Regions from separate parts of the Homo sapiens genome. Here region 2 is linked to region 1. The links are contacts of gene promoters, found by promoter capture Hi-C in blood cells and fetal thymus (Javierre and others, 2016). All regions are on one chromosome and are shown on one strand. Each heading gives the region's core, a stretch centred on a gene start or on the middle of the fragment in contact. The rest is flanking DNA. Distances are from core to core; before and after follow the strand shown.

Region 1 (2,700 bases), core at 122-2,621:
TAACTGTAATATAAAAGTTTTTTTGCTTGTCCAAGATTTTTACTTGCTACAGGTGGTTAAATTTCTATCTAGGACAGAATGAGCAAAGCCAGTAACTGAAAATATTGAACAGCATGATTCCCAACTAGACAAAAGAGAGACTCGAAATAAGAAAAATTTATAATGAACACTGGACACAGTAGGCCTGAAGACTCCCTATGATTCCAATATATTTCTAGGTGTAAAAGATTACTGTTATTCTACTCACCCTCCCATGAAGACTAACAGGCTTCATGGGACTAACTCTATAACAAGAAAATATTTTAAATTGGTGAAGCTTTTCTTGGAAATGACTCATTTTACCCAATTCAATGACAACAATTTTCACCACTTATAATTAATGAGAAATACTGAATAAAGTATCATCAACTTCAAGGTTAACCAATAAACTTCTTTGTAAAACAACCATATTTCATACCATGTATGATAATAATTTTTATCAATGTTTAAAAAGCATTTTGAAAAATTCATGTCAAATGTTTTCTTTTCATTTTAATTTCTGAGTTATTTTTCCTATGTGTATCAGTTGTGTATTGCTGTGAAAAAAGTCACTTCAAATTTAGTAGCTTCAACCAACAATCATTTTATTTGCTACCAATTTTTTGGGTGAGAAGTTTGTGCTGGGCTCAGTTGGACAGTTCTACTGATTTCCCTGTATATACCTCATGCAGCAAAAGTCATCCTGGTGGTTCTATGTGATGGTTAATTTTTGTATCGACTTGGCTGGATGATAGTCCCCAGATATTTGGTCAAACGTCATTCTAAATATTTCTGTCTATGTGTTTTGGGAATGAGATAATATTTTACTGGATTATTCTTCACAATGCGGGTGGGCCTCATCCAGTTAGTTGAAGGCCTTAATAGACAATAATTGACATCAGACCTAAGTAAGAAGGAATTCTGCCAGCAGACTGCTTTTGGACTCAAATTGCAACTCTTCCCTGAGTCTCAAGCCTGCTGGCCTACCTTGCATATTTTGGACTTACCAAGCTTCCACGACTGTATGAAGCATTTCCTTAAAATAAATGTACATATCTGTCTCTCTACACACATACATATATACACACTCTCACACACATCCTGTTGGTTCTCTTTCTCTGGAGAACCCTAACACACTCCACTCAGACAGATTGTCTAAGGTGGCTTCACTTAAGTTTTGGATATCGACTCTTGCCGTCACTCTCTTGAAACAATGTTCTTAGACTCTCATGTAAAGAAACTCCATCTAGCTGCACCCTGGCACTGTCCCAAAAAAGTGAGGATAATACCTGCAAGGTTTCTTAAGGATTATGCCTTGAAGTCATATTTTACTTCTGTAGAGTTCTATTAGATCAAACAAGTTACCTGGCCAAGCCTAGGGTCATAGTGGGAGAATTTTGAGGGCCATATGGCAAACAGCCCACCATACAATACATTCTCAAATGGCTTCTCAAATTTTACATTCTTGTGAATGATTCTCTCTTCTTGTGATTAATTTTACACACATTACTTCAATATAAATTTTTATCTCATTGCATTTTCAGTTTTTTTGTAATTTCACATTTATGGTACTCTTACAATGTGCCATGTGCTATTCTAAGTATTTTATGTAGATTAATTTAATTCTTACAACAACCTTTTGAGGTAGGTAATACTATTTTGTTCCCATTTTCAGATGAAAATGCCAAGGCATAGAAAGCTTATGTAACTTGCCCAGTAACACTCAGAGACTTAATGTCACAACCAGTACTTAAATGTATACTATCTGACTACAGGGTATGCATGCTTAGTCATAATGTTATTAAAATATCATTTGTGATGACTGAGGCATCATGGCAGATAGGAGGCAGGACTAGATTGCAGTTCCAGACAGAGCAGGAGACAGAGGCTTGCACATTGAATTTTAGCTCCAGATCGACTGCAAGAGCAAACCGGTAATCCTGAGAGGACCCACAGATCCTCTGCCGGAAGCAGACTGTTTCTGCAGGACCAAGGAGACACCACAGATACTGTGGGTGTCCCAACTGCAGAAATTGGAAAGGGAGACCCTTCTCTTCCAAACACACACCCCACTGGAGAAGCTGTTTCTGACTTTACCTGGAGCTGAGTCAAGTTAGAGAGCTGAGCCAAGTGAAATACAGGGGTAGGGGAAGTAGCGGAAAGACCCTGGGAGCTCGCTGGGTCCCCCAAGCAGCCCATACCTGCCTGGCACCACAGGGATCCACTGGGAGGTTGGCCAGAGAAGTAGGGGGTAAAATACCACAGGCAGAAGGAATTCTCTAGCTAAACTCTGTAACAATTTGAACGGGGCATGAAGCCTCCTGGCCAGTACTTCAAGGAGGGTGTGAATCCAGCATGCAGACCTCACAGGCAGGGGGGAAAACTAAAGCCCTTTTCTTTGGCAGCCGGGAGGTGGAAAGCCTCAGGCAAGTTTTCAAGCAGGGCTCACCCTCCACCTGGAAACAGACTCCAGGTTGTTGAGGGGGACACGGTGGGAGTGAGACTGGCCCTTCAGCTAGCATGTGAACTAGGTGAGGCCTGTGACTGCTGGCTTTCCCCTACTTACCTGACAACCTACATGACTCAGCAGAGGCAGCCGTACTTCTCCTAGTGTGTCCGGAATTGGTGGGTTCTTGGTCTCGCTGTCTTCAAGGATGAAGCCGCGGACCCTCACGGTGAGTG
Region 2 (2,700 bases), core at 4-2,503, 280 kb after region 1:
TGAGTTAGGAGTAAAATAAATCAGTTTTCCTGGGTACACTTCTGGGAAAAGACAAAACCAAGGTACTGTAATACAGCTGATGCTTGTCTCAGCCTCTTAAATGAATCACAGTGAATAGGAAACACTAGTAAGTTGTTGAAATTTATGTGATGTAGTCAGTAAGGAAAACACTAACTAAAGAGAACTTTAATATGGAAAAGTACATCTCTTCTGATCCCCAATCTGAAATTAACCAGTCTGAAATGTGTGTTAACCCAGAATAATGCCCTTTTCATATGACTGTGAAAAGGCTGTAAATATCATTACTATTTTTTTATTTCCTAAAATATATAGTATGATTCTTTTCCTGTAAAAAAGCAAAGTCGCAGTCAACAACAATTTTTAAAAACCCTCTCTATTACAGATATTTTCCTCAGGATATAGTATTTTTCTACATTGTATAATGATAGTTAACATAAAGGAACAGAGTCTGGGATAGGAGAGAGGCATTTTCATTTCTTTCCTTTATTTACTTTTAAAAAACAGGAAATCAGAGGTATGGCATAATTTTCCAAAATCTTTTAAAATTAAAATTAATGAATAAATATTACTTCTAATTAGTCAATGTTATAATTTGTTAAATAAATACTATCACAACCAATATGCCTAAAAGAAAGCAAACAAAAAATTGTCTGCTGTAGCTTAAATATCACCAAAACACATAGGACAGTTGGATATCCTTCTTTGAAAAAAAGATCAGAGCATATACAGTATAAGTTAATCCATAAAGCAGATAGTCACAATAAATAATAGAGGACAAGCTGCATTTTAAAAGGTAAATAAATGATGAATTCTTTTAATGGCCTGGTACACTGATAGAAATTGGAACGTTTCTAAGACCCTATTTTGTCCCCAGGATTTCCATTATAGGAATTGAATTTTTCAAAAGATATACAGAGAATTTTATTAATATGTTCCTGTCAAATTATCCCTTCAACATAAAATCATGTTTTTATAATAGCCATAAATTTGGAAATTTTTGTATTTTAATTTGCAATAATGCCACTTTATTTCTTGTGTAATCTGTTATCATAGCATGAATCACTCCCTGTTGAAAATTCTCAGAATTTCCTGGGAAAGGAATTGGACAGAAAATTAGTTTCCTATTTGGGAGAATTCTTAGAATTTAAATAAACCTATTGGTTGAACTGAAACCACAAAATTAGCATTTTCTAATTACCACATTTAAATAGCGTAAAGCAAAGAGATCGGCCATCATCTTGGTCATCAACACAACTTGCTTCTCTCCAGACTTGGGCTTAAGGTACTGCGTTTACATACAGCAAAATTGCTATCATTTTACATTATCTAATCTCTTTCTTCCACTGTTTACTAAGTATATTTGTACCATTTCCATATGTTTGCAAATATTAAAACTTCTTATGATTTTCTGGCACCTTAAAAATCCTTTTGCAAATTCTGATACCATTTTACAGCTTTAGGTGATGAATCAATACAGTTTTATAAAAATACCAAATCATTTTTTGATAATTTTGTAACTAAAATATATTTTTAAAGTTGATACATAATTTCAGTAGAGGCTTGGGGTAAGCTAATTTAAATTATTTTTACCTAATTCTATGAGAAGTTGTTATGCAAATAATTTCTTATTTTTGTAATTACCATAGCAAAAACCATTTCTAGCAGAATAGTTCAAGGCCATTTTTGTTTCATGTCATTTGGGCAACAAAATTAACTCTACAATGTGAATATCTATTATAGATAATTAGCTATTGATGGCTACTTTGTAATGATTATTAAATTTAGATATTCAGAAAGACACAAATAGTAAATTTATTTGGGTTCAAAAATATGCCTTTTTTATTAACACATTTAGATTCTAAAATTTGTAGACTGAAGCAATATATATAAATGTCAGCATTTGTATGTTGATTAAGGTGTGAACAAATAGTATGTGTGACCTGATTTTTTTTCTAATGATTTCTCTGGAAACCATTTTCCCAGTACATGTGGATGTCCATATTTCGGGGTTCTTGCAATTTAATGAAACTCTGGAAATCAAATATAAGACATGTCAATATTTTGATTCTATCCAATTCAATCATCTTTATATATTTATGTCATGAATATTCCAATGTAGCAAAACACGAAGTTATGGCTAGATTCTTTATTTAAAAATTGAAAGAGATCAATAGCTTTTACATAACGTGCAGACAGGATTTTTCATGAAGACTCTAAAAGAAAAGAATGCTCTCAAATAGATTTAAAAGAGAAGCTCATTTTCAAAACTTTTCAATAAAATTAAATTCCAGTTCTCAGTGGATTTAACTTTATTGCCCACTTTAGAAAATCTGATTTGTCATCTAGGAGGAAAAGTGTTTTCTTTTTTCAATTGTATTTCAATATTAGCACTTCTTTATTTCTCTAAGCCATATTATTACATTAAGAACAAAATGTTATGTTTTAAAGTGTTAGTGAAGAAAAATGTTTGTAAGAAATTAGTATTTCTAAATAATATAAGAACTAAGAAAAATAACTAGAATGGTAAACATTGATATTGAGTAGTAAAGTTTTTAAAATCTTAAGTTTATAAAAATTCACATTACAGCTCCTCAAATCAGCCTACTTTTATCATAATTTGCTCCTTTGTTGAAAAATCAAGAATTTTTTTCAGGAAACAAATTTAACGTAATAATATCT

Evidence for each region. The method cuts DNA at HindIII sites, captures the fragments that hold promoters and counts their contacts. A CHiCAGO score of 5 or more calls a contact.
Region 2: the fragment with the promoter of CSN1S1 here is called in contact with a fragment that was not itself captured in region 1 in 1 of 17 cell types (neutrophils); the score reaches 5.1 in neutrophils.

What each region holds. Positions count from the first base shown.
Region 1 is chr4:69,654,534-69,657,233 of GRCh38, forward strand. No RefSeq gene overlaps it. Among named protein-coding and RNA genes, the nearest start is that of UGT2A1, 2.6 kb to the left of the region's middle. RefSeq lists an enhancer at 1,791-2,700. The HindIII fragment of the contact is 688 bases long and covers 1,028-1,715 here.
Region 2 is chr4:69,929,815-69,932,514 of GRCh38, forward strand. It overlaps CSN1S1 (casein alpha s1), which reads left to right and starts at 1,254. Exons shown (of 16, transcript NM_001890.2): 1 at 1,254-1,303. The HindIII fragment of the contact is 13,101 bases long and covers 1-2,700 here.